4 separate regions of the Homo sapiens genome follow, and all the other regions are linked to region 2. The links are contacts of gene promoters, found by promoter capture Hi-C in human tissues and cell types (Jung and others, 2019). All regions are on one chromosome and are shown on one strand. Each heading gives the region's core, a stretch centred on a gene start or on the middle of the fragment in contact. The rest is flanking DNA. Distances are from core to core; before and after follow the strand shown. Region 1 overlaps CYP11A1 (cytochrome P450 family 11 subfamily A member 1). Region 2 holds the start of COX5A (cytochrome c oxidase subunit 5A). Region 3 overlaps PML (PML nuclear body scaffold). Region 4 holds the start of SIN3A (SIN3 transcription regulator family member A).

Evidence for each region. Contacts are between HindIII fragments. The study calls those that stand out against the background at their distance.
Region 1: a fragment that was not itself captured here is called in contact with the fragment with the promoter of COX5A in region 2 in 2 of the 25 tissues and cell types used here (aorta and psoas muscle).
Region 3: a contact is called between a fragment that was not itself captured here and the fragment with the promoter of COX5A in region 2, in 1 of the 25 tissues and cell types used here (dorsolateral prefrontal cortex).
Region 4: the fragment with the promoter of SIN3A here is called in contact with the fragment with the promoter of COX5A in region 2 in 2 of the 25 tissues and cell types used here (hippocampus and mesenchymal stem cells).

The regions. Positions count from the first base shown.
Region 1 is chr15:74,358,627-74,362,082 of GRCh38, reverse strand. All of the region lies in intron 1 of CYP11A1 (cytochrome P450 family 11 subfamily A member 1), which reads left to right. It also overlaps the pseudogene PPIAP46. Among named protein-coding and RNA genes, the nearest start is that of CYP11A1, 7.3 kb to the left of the region's middle. The HindIII fragment of the contact is 5,215 bases long and covers 1-3,456 here.
Region 2 is chr15:74,936,444-74,939,696 of GRCh38, reverse strand. It overlaps COX5A (cytochrome c oxidase subunit 5A), which reads left to right and starts at 1,624. Exons shown (of 5, transcript NM_004255.4): 1 at 1,624-1,782. The coding sequence starts at 1,683. RefSeq lists a silencer at 1,371-1,930. The HindIII fragment of the contact is 14,403 bases long and covers 1-3,253 here.
Region 3 is chr15:73,998,171-74,001,495 of GRCh38, reverse strand. It overlaps PML (PML nuclear body scaffold), which reads right to left. Exons shown (of 9, transcript NM_033238.3): 2 at 3,020-3,325. Among named protein-coding and RNA genes, the nearest start is that of PML, 5.1 kb to the right of the region's middle. The HindIII fragment of the contact is 4,698 bases long and covers 1-3,325 here.
Region 4 is chr15:75,449,634-75,453,196 of GRCh38, reverse strand. SIN3A (SIN3 transcription regulator family member A) reads left to right here and starts at 1,507. Exons shown (of 21, transcript NM_001145358.2): 1 at 1,507-1,774. RefSeq lists enhancers at 1-62, 92-623, 853-902, 2,613-2,742, 2,170-3,089 and 1 more and silencers at 1,543-1,642, 1,863-2,362. The HindIII fragment of the contact is 10,283 bases long and covers 1-3,563 here.

The sequences.
Region 1 (3,456 bases), core at 147-2,646, 580 kb after region 2:
ATGGTCTGGTGGTTAAGATAAAACACAAGTCAAACTTATTAGAGTTGTCCACAGTCAGCAATGGTGATCTTCTTCCTGGTCTTGCCATTCCTGGACCCAAAGCGCTCCGTGGCCTCCACAATATTCATGCCTTCTTTCACCTTGCCAAAGACCACATGCTTGCCATCCACCACTCAGTCTTGTCAGTGCAGATGAAAAACTGGGAACCGTTTGTATTGGATCCAGCATTTGCCATGGACAAGATGCCAGGACGTGTATGCCTTAGGATGAAGTTCTCATCATCAAATTTCTCCCCATAGATGGACTTGCCACCAGTGCCATTATGGCATATGAAGTCACCACCCTGACACATAAATCCTGGAATAATTATGTGAAAGCAGGAACCCTTATAACCAAATCCTTCCTCTCCAGTGCTCAGAGCATGAAAGTTTTCTGCTGTTTTTGGAATCTTGTCTGCAAACAGCTCAAAGGAGACGTGACCCAAGGGCTCGCCGTGACTGCGATGTCAAAGAACACGGTGGGGTTGACCATGGCTGATAGTACAGGGCTCCTGGTGGCAGTGACGGCATCTGCAAAGCGACAGGTTATAAACTATTTTAAACAATTTCAGTATTAGCTGGTTTAACATGAAAGTCTTTTCTTGATATGTAATTAATTTTTTGTTGTTGTTGTTTTACGTGGGTTAGTAGCTTTATACAAGAAAATTTGGTCATTTTTGTGGTTTACAATAACTTAACATAATTATAATTGTGATTGGTAACATATACTTAGACATTAGAATTTGAGAAATCCCATACAATTTTGGAATATATTATTCACAAAAATATAACCTAAAGAAGATTTAACATCATTTTGTCAATCCCATGTACCTAAACATGTCAAATAATCCTGTTTACCTCTTTTCTGGATGTTTTCAGGGGCCCTCTGATTCATCTAGAAAGCCAGGCATTAGGAAAGACAATTTTGAAACTGAAGTTTGATTTTGGAATTCCAGATTACCGTAAACTATTTATTTTGCCAAAATGATGACTCAGAAATTTTAAAGAAGCAAAAACCTTTTGTAACCTTCCACACACACAAAAAAACCCCCAACACTTTCTACTGTTCTTATACACCTTGCATGTAAAACTGTTTCTAGTAGTCTTAATTGCATGTTATAATGGCAAATTTGTTTTTTTTGAGACAGAGTTTCACTCTTGTTGCCCAGGCTGGAGTGCAATGGCATGATCTCGGCTCACTTCAACCTCTGCCTCCTGAGTTCAAATGATTCTCCTGCCTCAGCCTCCCCAGTAGCTGGGATTACAGGCAGGCACCACCTTGCCCAGCTAATTTTGTATTTTTACTAGAGATGGGGGTTTCACCATGTTGGTCAGGCTGGTCTTGAACTCCTGACCTTAGGTGATCCACCTGCCTCGGCCTCCCCAAATGCTGGGATTACAGGTGCGAGGCACTGTGACTGGCCTATAATGGCGAATTTTAACATAAAACCTGGTAAGTTAGGCCAGGCGCGGTGGCTCACTCCTGTAATCCCAGCACTTTGGGAGGCCGAGGCGGGTGGATCATGAGGTCAGGAGTTCAAGACCAGCCTAGCCAAGATGGTAAAACCCCATCTCTACTAAAAATAATAATAAAAAATTAGCCAGGTGTGGTGGCGGGCGTCTGTAATTCCAGCTACTCAGGAGGCTAGGGCAGAGAATTGCTTGAATCTGGGAGATGGAGATTGTGGGTGAGCCGAGATTGCGCCACTGCACTCCAGCCTGGGGGACAGAGTGAGACTCTGTCAAAACAAAAACAAAAACAAAAAAAACTGGTAAGTTCTGATAAAGTTTCTGATAAGGTTTGACTACTTCCAGCACAGCTAGGGGCATGGCTAACTCCACGTGTCCCCAGGCCTTACCTAGCTGGAAAGCAGGCAAGTTAAACAATTTTCAAAAGCCAAAGGAGTAGCTTATGATGTTAAAGGATTTAGCAAACCTAGTATTTGAACATAATGTACACCACATGTTTACATTTTGAAGACAACTGTATTTTTCCAATAATCTTGAAAACTGTCTTTATTTCCCAACTATTGCTAAAGTCACATGAACTAAAAGGCATTACACTTTCTACTTTTCTGACAAAATATTTGACTTAAGCTTTTATTATTATTAAACCAATTAATTTAAAATCTTACAGAGGAGATATACGTGACTTCTACTTTATATTTAACCAGTTTGCATAGAGGGAAAGAGCCCAGAGACTGACTCATAAGAAATTCTTATCCTTTCACCGGCATGCCAGATTTCAGGGTTCTCTCTTTCACGCGTGTCCCTGTGAAGAGACCACTGAACAGGCTTTGTGTGAGCAATAAAGCTTTTTAATCACCTGGGTGCAGGTGGGCTAAGTCCGTAAAGAGAGTCAGCGAAGGGAGATAGGGGTGGGGCCGTTTTATAGGATTTGGGTAGGTCATGGAAAATTACAGTCAAAGGGGTTGTTCTTTGGCAGGCACGGGCAGGGGACACAAGGTGCTCAGTGGGGGAGCTTTTGAGCCAGGATGAGCCAGGAGAAGGAATTTCACAAGGTAATGTCATCAGTTAAGGCAGGAACAGGCCGTTTTCACTTCTTTTGTGATCCTTCAGTTACTTCAGGCCATCTGGGTGCATACGTGCAGGTCACAGGGGACATGATGGCTTAGCTTGGGCTCAGAGGCCTGATATTCCTGTCTTCTTATATTAGTAAGAAAAATAACATAAAATAGTGTTGAAGTGTTGGGGCAGCAAAAATTTTGGGGGTGGTATGGAGAGATAATGGGCAATGTTTCTCAGGGCTGCTTCAAGCAGGATTAAGGGCAGTGTGGGAACCTAGAGTGGGAGAGATTAAGCCAAAGGAAGATTTTGTGGTAAGGGGTGATATTGTGGGGTTGTTAAAAGGAGCATTTGTCATGTAGAATGATTGGTGATGGCCTGGATGCAATTTTGTATGAACTGAAAAACTAAATGGAAGACACAAGGTCTGAATAAGAGAAGGAGAAAAACAGGTATTAAAGGACTAAGAATTGGGAGGACCCAGGACATCCGATTAGAGAGTGCCCAAGGGGATTCAGTGTAATTACTTGTTTGGTTGGTGAGTTTTTGGGCTCTATTCTTGACAGAGTCCTTTTTTTAAGTTGGAGGCTGAGTTTGGTGAGGTGTGTTTTTAAAAGACCATTAGTCCGTTTTACCTTTCCTGAAGATTGAAGACGGTAAGGGGTATGAAGGTTTCACTGAATACCAAGAGCCTGAGAAACTGCTTGAGTGATTTGACTAATAAAGGCTGGTCTGTTATCAGACTGTATAGAGGTAGGAAGGCCAAACCGAGGAATTATGTCTGACAGAAGGGAAGAAATGATCGTGGTGGCCTTTTCAGACCCTACGGGAAAGGTCTCTACCCAACCGGTGAACGTGTCTACCTAGACCAAGAGGTATTTTAGTTTCCTGA
Region 2 (3,253 bases), core at 375-2,874:
TTTGTGGTATTGTTTTCTAAGCCCCAGCACTAGGTTGGTGGGAAACGGTGAGGGCAGGTGCTTTGAAAACATTTTAAAAATCCTTTTCCCCGCCAGGTTCCTACCCACTGAAGCCACACTGCTAGGGAGGAAAAAGAGAAGGGCAGATGCTGAGGCCCTGGAGAGTCGGCCTGAAGTGAGGAAGTGGCACATGAATGGCCACCTTTTCTTTCCTCAGTGTGCCCAGGGATAGAGAATGGGAGACAGCAAGACAGAATACAATGTCTCATTAACTCTGGGCAGCATCCAGATACTTCAGGCCTGGGAGAGGTGTCCTTGACTGCCCAGGGGCTCAAAGTTAGGATGTAGCTAGTGAGATAAGATGCAACAACTGTGGAACTTGATCAACCCTATTTCAGAGCCATCGTGGATTCAGGAGCCCTCCTGTAGGAGATGGGAAACATTCAGGTGAGAGTCCTCAGAACTGGGGATGTGGCGAAAAGATCCTTGACTGCCAGCAGCAACCTAATTTCTGAGCCTCTTTCCTAATCTGTGAAATGAAGTAGTTTAACTCATTTTTTATGCAAGCTGGTTTGTGATATAAGAATATGTACTAATAAAATCCCTTACGCATAGGCCTTTTTTTTTTTTGAGATGGAGTTTTGATCTTGTTGCCCAGGCTGGAGTGCAATGGTGCGATCTCAACTCACTGCAACCTCTGCCTCCTGGGTTCCAGCAATTCTCCTGCCTCAGCCTCCCAAATAGCTGGGATTACAGGCATGCGCCACCACACCTGGCTAATTTTGCATTTTTAGTAGAGACAGGGGTTTCTCCATGTTGGTCAGGCTGGTCTCGAACTCCCGACCTCAGGTGATCCGCCCGCCTTGGGCTCCCAAAGTGCTAGGATTACAGGCGTGAGCAACCGCGTCCAGCGGCATTCTTTCCCCCATTCGCTGTTTTATTTTATGCCACAATGAGAAGGCGGGGCTAAGCAAAGTAGGTTTTTGTTTTGTTTGGTTTTTTTGAGACGGAGTTTCGCTCTTGTTGCCCAGGCTGGAGTGCAATGGCACCATCTCGGCTCACCGCAACCTCCTCCTCCTGGGTTCAAGCGATTCTCCTGCCTCAGCCTCCCGAGTAGCTGGGATTGCGGGCATGCGTTGCGCCACCACGCCTGGCTAATTTTGTATTTTTAGTAGAGACGGGGGTTCCTCCATGTTGCCCAGGCTGGTCTTGAACTCCCGACCGCAGGTGATCCGCCCGCCTCGGCCTCCCAAAAGTGCTGGGATTACAGGCATGAGCCACAGCGCCCGGGCGCAAAGTACGTATTTTTTATTATAGTTTGTTGTTATTGCTGTCATTCCTATTTTGAGGTGATTAAGTGCCCTCCTGGGCCTGACTCGAACAAGATCACGGTCGGTTGCTCCTCCCTCGCCTCCATTCCTACTTACAGGATGGCAGCTGCACGTCACCTGACCAGAGACAAGGCGGGACGCGAGGCTAACAGTTTGTCCTCAGCGCGCCGCCGTAGCCCCCGCCGCCGCCGGCCGCGCGGTGGCTCCTCCCGCCCACGCGCCAGAGTCGCAGTGGGCGGGCCTACGTGCTCCGCCCGCTGTGAGCCTGTCCGGCCCCCGCCCGCTCCGGAGCAACCCGCGAGCTTACACCGGCTTCTCTCTGTCCTCAGCCCGCGCGCCGCCATCGCCGTCATGCTGGGCGCCGCTCTCCGCCGCTGCGCTGTGGCCGCAACCACCCGGGCCGACCCTCGAGGCCTCCTGCACTCCGCCCGGACCCCCGGCCCCGCCGTGGGTAAGGCCCCTGCTTGCCACTGCCCGCGCCCTCGTGTCCTTGCGGTGACCTGGGTCCCCGCTGCCACTCCGGGGCGGGCTCTCCCCGGCCTAGCCCTTGCCCTACCCTGGTTACTGAACCCGGTGACCGCGGGCCGCCCTGCCCGCCGCCTCGAGTAGTGGAGGACCTGAAAGCGCGCCCCCGGGGCCTCCCCCCGCGCAACTTCCTGGCTGTGCCACCGCGGACAGGTCAGATGTGGACCTGCTGTGGGCGCCGAGGAGGGGACGCAGCGCTCCCCTTCGGTTCCCGGGCCATGACCCTGCCCCAGCGCCGACCCTGCGGCCACCTGACCGAGAGTGGCCGCCGCCGGCCTGCAGCGCCTCGGCGAAGGTGACATTGAGCCTCCGGGCACGCCGCTTGGGGTCCGAGGACACAATATACTTCCGTATGGGACACACGATTATACTTTTCAATCAGGCATTTCTCGGTTAGCGATTAGTGTGTCACCTTCACAGCCTTTTCCATCATTTTTAGGGTCTGCTGTGCCACGTTCTAATTCTTCCACGTTTAAAATAGATGGAAGTGTGTGGTTGTTTCCTGATCTCCGGAAGATAGCCAGAGTTTTGATAGGGCTTATGATAAAAATATCACTCTTTTGAAAACTGAATGTCACAGACACAGGAATACTGGGTTTTACAAGCATAGGAACGCTTCGTGTTTTTTCCCCTTTGTAATAGAAGCCTGATTGCTGGAGTATGAGACGTGCTTCTGATTTTTGTCTATTTTCCTTCCCTTTATATGTGTGCTGGGAGGTTTTGAGTCCACCACCATAGAATAATTACAGTAATTGCACTTCGATCTTGGTCCGTGAAATTTAGCTTCTATGCATGCATATTATATTTTATTTTTGAACCTGCATCACTGGCAACTATGCATGCGTATTTAAACATAAGAACTCAGAAACTCGTTTCAGGGTATGCTGAAGTTAAAAATTAAAAAAAGAACTCAGCCGGGCGCGGTGGCTCATGCCTGTAATCCCAGCACTTTGGTAGGCCGAGGCGGGCGGATCACCTGAGGTCAGGAGTTCAAGACCAGCCTGGCCAACATGGTGAAACCCTGTCTGTACTAAAAATACAAAAAATTTAGCTGGGTGTGGTGGTGGGCGCCTGTAATCCCAGCTACTCGGGAGGCTGAAGCACAAGAATCGCTTGAACCTGAGAGGCGGAGGTTGCAGTGAGCCGAAATCGCGCCATTGCACTCCAGCCTGGCCGACAGAGCGAGACTCCGTCTCAAAAAAAAAAAAAAAAAAAAAAGAATATGTTTTGCTTCATTCATTTTAGACTTTTATCATTTGTCGTAGAACCATAAGGCTGGAGGGTACTTTATTTTTGTTTATTTATTTATTTTTAAATTAGAGACGGAGTGTCCCTATGTTGCCCAGGCTGGGCTTGAACTCCTGGGCTCAGGTGATCCTCCCACCTCAGCCTCCCAA
Region 3 (3,325 bases), core at 669-3,168, 940 kb after region 2:
TGGTGGTGGGCACCTGTAGTCTCAGCTACTGGGGAGGCTGAGGCAGGAGAATCACTTGAACCCAGGAGGCACAGGTTGCAGTGAGCCAAGATCTACCACTGCACTCCAGCCTGGGTGACAGAGGGAGATTCTCAAAAAAAAAAAAGTTATTATTATTAAACAATAAAGATTGCAAATAAATGAATTATAAGTTCAAGAAGCTAGAAAATGAATAATGACAAAAGTTAGAAGGAAGAAAATGACAAAAATAAAATGATCAAACAGAAAGAAGGAAAACATTAAAATCAGTAAGCAATCTAAGGAAAGACTAAAAGTACAGTACTTTGAAAAGACTGCTAAACCACAAATATACAACATCAGAAATAAAAAAAGGGGGTATAGTTACAGGCATATAGGAGATTTTTAAATAATGAAAGATAACTCAGGATGAACTGGAAAATCTTCCAAAAATCTGACACAAGAGCCAAAACAGATTAATGCCATGGCAAAAATGGGAAAAGTTCCCAAAAATCTACTATAAAAAAGGCACCAGTTCCAAGATGGTTTTTCAAAAAACTTTTATAAGCCTAAATTTCTTATATTCTTCAAATTGTTCTAGAGCAGAGAAATTATAATAGAATTTTAACATTCACTGAGTATTTAATATGTGCCAGGCACTACGCTAAACAATTTATATGTACAGTTGGCCCTCAGTATCTGCAGGTTACGCACCCGTGGATTCAACAAATCTTGGATCAAAAATATTCAGGCGAAAAAAAATCAATTAAAAAAGTACCACAATAAAAAAATATACAAATTCAAAAATATAGTAAAACAACTCTTTACATAGCATTTACATTGTATTAGGCATTATAAGTAATCTAGAGATGACTTAAAGTATACAGGAGGGGATGGGTACAGTGGCTCACACCTGTAATCCCAGCACTTTGAGAGGCCTAGGGAGGGTTGCTGCCTGAGCCCAAGAGTTCTCAAGACCAGTCTGGGCAATGTCGTGAAACCCTGTCTCTACAAAAAATTTAAAAATTAGCTGAGTGTGGTGGTGCACACCTGCAGTCCTGTATAATCTGGTGGCTGAGGTGGGAGGATTGTTTGAACCCAAGAGATTGAGGCTGCAGTGAGCCACGAGTGCAGCACTGCACTCCAGCCTGGGCGACAGAGCAAGACCCCGTCTCAAAAAATAAAAATAAAATAAAAAATAAAGTATACAGGAGGATGTGTAGAGGTTATATACAAATACTATGCCATTTTATATCAGAGACTTGAGCATCTATGAATTTGAAACAGACTCCCATGGATCCCGTGGGATGGCTGCATTATCACGTTCAAAACATGAAAGCTTACAAATTCATTAAGAAATTAGTATAAGGCTGGGCATGGTGGCTCATGCCTGTAATCCCAGAACTTTGGGAGGCCGAGGCAGGTGGATCACCTGAGGTCAGGAGACCAGCCTGACCATTATAGTGAAACCCTGTCTCTACTAAAAATGCCAAAAAATTAGCCAGGCATGATGATGTGCACCTGTAATCGCAGCTACTTGGGAGGCTGAGGCAGGAAAATGGCGTGAACCCGGGAGGTGGAGGTTGCAGTGAGCCGAGATCGCGCCACTGCACTCCAGCCTGGGTGACACAGCGAGACTCCATCTCAAAAAAAAAAAAAAAAAATTAAAAAAAATTTTTTAAATCCAAAAGATAGAACCAGAGATAAAGCCAATTTCTCCTAATTTATTGCAATTTCAATCAAAATCCAATAAATATGTAAGTTTTAAAACTGCATAAATTGTAAGAGCAAAAGAAATGCATACATTTTTTTCTTTCGAGGAATTTGTTCCTGAATTCTTTAATTAGTCCCTTAATTCCTCAACGGAAACAACAACAACAACAGGCAAAGGACCTAAACAGGCCACTCGCAAATGCAGAAACACAATGGCCAATAAACAAGTGGAAAGCCACTCAACCTTTACAATAAGCTAAGAAACGTGGTGATACCAGCTGTTGAGGAGTCGGAGGGGAAAGCTTATTCTGATAGTGTGGGAAGTTTATCCTAAAGCAGGAAACAAATCACAGTCAGTTTAGCAGATATGTAGTTCAGCAAATATGTGGTTTAGCCATATATAGTTCTGAGTTGTCAAAAACCAGCGAAAAATGCTTTCATTTTGCAAGTGGATCTCTAAGAACCAAGAAGCGCCTTCTATGAACAATCTATTGCTAATGGTGAAAAGTTCACATAGTTATGCTACCTTTTTGGCTAAAAGAGGGAAAATAGGACCTGATAAGATTGCTCCTACCTGCATATATATTCGTAAAGAAACTCTCAGAAGAAACATTCAAAACTAGTAACAATGGCTACCTGTGGATGGGAAGAGGGAGAAGTGGTGGGAATTAGGCAGTTGGGCATGGACAGAAGATTGCACTCTCTCTCTCCTCTTTACAAATTTTGTTCGTGAACTGTACGAATGTATTACCTATTAAAAAACTGAGTTAAAATCTGTTTAATAAAAATAATTACAACTGGATGTGATTTTTTTTCCCCATACAGACATTCTCAGATAGCGCTGCCTGGTGTTAATGGTTTCAACTTTTCAGACAGAAACTAACTACTTGTCTCTGATCCTAGAATCCAGCCTTACTGAGATTCCGTGTCAGTGCTCTCGGAAAATTCCACTAAATTCTAAAGGGCAGTTTGGTAACATGTATCAAATGTAGAATTCCCGTCCCCCTACACCCAGCAGTGGCACTTCTAAAAATTTATCCTAAAGAAGTTACTGGATAAAGATGCAAAGATGATTCTGCAGCATTATTTATTACAGGAGGAAACTGGAAACTTACTATCCACCTGCGTGGGGACTGGCAGCATAAATTGTGGTCATCAACACGGACACTGCATATCTGCAGACCACATTTAGAGTTGCAAGGCCCCAGAAGCTCCTTGTCCTCAGCTGTGTGACTCTTTGGATCTTTGCTCCTCTCGCCCTCTACCTGGTACTTGGATGCACCACCCCACCCTGTGCCGGCCTACTCACCTGGTCAGCGTAGGGGTGCGGTGGTTGGGGTTGGAGCAGAAGATGTTGTTGGTCTTGCGGGTGCCGTCCAGGAACTCACGCACCGACTGGTTGCGCAGCTCTGCTAGGGGCCGGGCCTCGTGCTTGAGGAACCACTGGTGTGCCTCGAAGCACTTGGCGCAGAGGAGCTGCTCGCACTCAAAGCACCAGAAGTCGGCCGACTCTTTGCAGCGGGTGCACACAGCCTGCGCATCCACAATCTGCCGGTACACCGACAGGCGCCGCTGCAGACTCTCGAAAAAGACGTTATCCAGGGCGGGTGTGTCT
Region 4 (3,563 bases), core at 258-2,757, 510 kb before region 2:
GCCGTTTCCGCTGGATTGCAGAGGGAGGACAGTGTTGGACCTAGGCGTGGGTTCCCTGGGCGTGTCCCTTGGGGTCTTAGCTCTCTGGGAGGAGGGTTCTACTTATTCGGGAGAGCGGTAACAACGTAATCCCGTCACCTCTCCTGGCGCTGAGAGAGCGCCCCCCAAAGTAAGATCAGCGTCAGGCCCACGCCCTATTTGGTGAATAAATAAAAGCAAACTAGGAATTGAAAGCACTTTGTCTCACTGTGTGTTCGAGGCACTGTTACCTACACAGAGAGGGCACAGGAACTGCTATTAACACTCCCGGCCAAGGAGAAGGTGAACAGCCGTTATCTTATGTCCCCAACTACGGAAATTTTATCCATTCTCTGAGTGTGGCATGTCCCCAATGTTAATTTATGCCGTGGCCTGTTTTGGTGTTTTCCTCTCCTTTCTCAGTTCTGAGGATGCCTCCAGATCCACCCGGGAGATCGTGAGTACCTTGTGCCTCACGCTCCGCCTTCCGGAGGCTTGCCAGGGCGGTGGCTGTTAGAGCCCGCCTCTCTTTTGGTTATCTCCGCCCTCTTAGGACTGCATATTCAGCTCTAGGGAGTTTACTTCTCCGCCTAGGTCTCCAGACCTTAGTTCTGTACTCTACTTGGCTGAAAGGAGTTGCCAGCTGCTCCGGATATTTGTGTTTACAAGGACGCAGTGTGTAGAATGTAAACTGTAAAGATAACTGGACGGAAGGATGAGTTCTCATTCTCTCATTTTTTTTGTGAGGGAGTCCTCCATGGTGGGCTGCCTTTCCTTCAAATCCTAGGATGTGGAGTCTCCGCTGATGAGCTCCGCTCCCCCTCCTATCTCGGGCCCTGGAACTCCGAGCTTCAGTCTCTAGTGTAAACATTCCACAAAAGGACTGCTAAGGTTCAGCCTCCTCGCGCAGGGTGGAATTAGCTCCTTCCTAGACGGGCGCCCTGGCCAATGGAGGGTCCTACCAGCGCCAAGATATCCAATCCGACTCTTGGGGCGGGGCCTGGCCCGGCAGTGCGGTAGGCGGAGCCTGTTTCACTTACAGACATTTTACCCCACATCGGTTACTTACCTTACTGGGGCGGTGGGAGAGCCAGGGGTAGCCTTCCAATGCGATGACCAGCGGAGGCGGGAGCCAACTTGTTAGGCCTGTGGCTGAGACGCTGCAGGGCGGGTTATGTGGTGTCCTCCAATGAGACAGGAAGAGCTTCCCTGCTTCCTCCAATAGTGTTGGGGCTCGGGGGTGGGCTTCAGCAGTCCGTCTCCAATAGGCGGGGTTGAGTTAGGGAAGCTCCCCGCCAATAGGGGCGTGGAGAAGGAGAGCGGCTCCCCCTCCCCTACCAGTCGAGGGGGAAGGGGCGGGAAAATCATAAGACAGGCCTCGGTGGTTGGCTGAGTCTTTGACGGGCGGGTATTGCGTCCTGTATTGGAACGAAGCTGAGTCTTCCCTCTGCGGGGCGGGGTCGGGGGAGTGGGCGGGATTTCCCGGGTAACAGAGAAGCGGCCGCGGCGGTAGAGGCGGCGGAGACGGTTTCTCCATCTTCCCCCCTCCCCTTCCCCCCTCGGAGTTTCCCTCCCTCCCTCCCTCCCTCCTTCCCAGTCTGGGCACCGGAGCCTGTGACCGCTTCGTTAGTGGAGAGGTAGCTGGCAGTCCGCTTCGGCGGGCCTGTGCCCCGCGCCGTTCTCGGGGCCTCCCTGCTGAGCTCGCGGCTCACGCTGAGAGGGACACGCAGTGACGAGCGGCCGAAGCAGCTTTGCGGTGAGAGCACGCTGGGCCGGGGGCCGGGCGGGAGCCTGGTGGCGGGTAACGCCGGACTCGAGGGTGTGTATTTTGGGGGGGGGGGGCTGACCTCCTCGGCTTCCCGTAGAGCAGACGGGCGGGAGGTGTGTGGTTGTGTGAGGGGGGTGGGGGGCGGAGCGGGGTAGCTCTCCGCGCGGGAGGGGGAGGAGAGCGTAGTCCCGGTGCGCGCGGAGGGGGGCGGGCTCTCGCGCCGCCGCTCAGAGGCGGGGCCGGCGCGCGCGTGCGATTGTGGAGAAAGGGGCGGGGCCGGCTTCGCGCTGAGTGCAGTTTGCGGCCGACCACCCCCTCCCCTCCTCCTGGGGTGGGCGGGGCCTCGGGCTGGCGGCCGCGCTCTGGCCTGCTGGGGTCGGGGAGGGGTAGGGGGGGGTCTCCCGCGTGTAGATTCAGGGCGCGGCAGGGAGGGGGCGTGAAGTCTGAGTTCCTCCGCCTTCTTGGGATCCGGTTGGCCGGAGGGGCCGTACTGATCCGTGATGCCACTCCCCTTGGCCGTCCCCCCCTGCACCCCGCCCAGGCCCCGGGTTTCCGCCTCCTTGGCAATGAGGAGGTGCTAGGGAAAGCCCGCTGTCGGGTCTGGCTGGGAGTCTCGGCGCCTAGATCTGCCCCGCCCTATGTCTCCGTGGGGAGGGAGGGGCACCCGCCGACTGGGAGCTGTGGAGGTGTCAGGACTTACTCTTGTGGCTGGGTCATGCCTTCTGCCTGGGGGCACAAGGGCCCTGTGCCGGAGCTGCTTTCTCCGCTTTGCTCCATGCAGCGTGTCTGGCACCGTGCAGCCAGGAGAGTGGGAGCATGGTCACCCCCACTCCCCTCTTGGTTGTAACTATTGGGGCGAAGTGCCCAAGGTCCTCTTGTAGGAGCGTGCGTGGCTGGTGCTGGAACCCTAGATCCGCGGTGGTGATGGTAGGGGAGGGGCAGGGAGTCATCAGAGACTAGAAATGTGGCGGAGGGAAAACCTTCCCTGGGGTTCCCTTGATGTTCAGTTACCGTGGCTGTACGGGGCGGGGCTTCCTTTGAGCCAATGGGTGGTGGGTAGTAGACTTGGCGTCTGTTTCGGTGCGTTAGGACTTTAAACGAAGTTAGCCTTGAAAAGGCAGTGGAAGCTCCTCCTCTTTACAAGGCTGAGATTTATAACAGGAAAGTTTGGATTTACATTTTAATCTCAAAACTGGTCTGTTTATAAAGTAGGGTTTGTTTTTTTTTTTTAAGAACTCAGACTTTGAATAAAATACTCCGATATCTCTGACAGTTGTATTTTTGAATGCTTTCATTGTGCACATGGTTCTGCTATATAAACTTAGTTTCCTGGACGGGCGCGGTGGCTCATGCCTGTAATCCTAGCACTTTGGGAGGCCGAGGCAGGTGGATCACTTGAGGTCAGGAGTTCGAGACCAGCCAGGCTTACATGGCGAAACCCTGTTTCTACTAAAAATACAAAAAAAAGCTGGGCGTGGTGGCAAGCGCCTGTAATCCCAGCTACTGGGGAGGCTGAGGCAGGAGAATCACTTGAACCCGGGAGGCGAGGGTGCAGTGAGCCGAGATGGTGCCATTGCACTGTAGCCTGGGCGACAGGAGCAAAACTCCGCCTCAAAAAACAACCAAAAAAACTTGGTTTCCTAAAGAATTTGCTATTTAGGTAACTATAGGTGAAAAGTCTTTTCTTTTTTATTTTATGTACTTATGTTAGACCATCTAGACCACTTTCTATTTATACTCTACATAGTACAGTGTTGTTGCCCTTTTTATTTCAGAG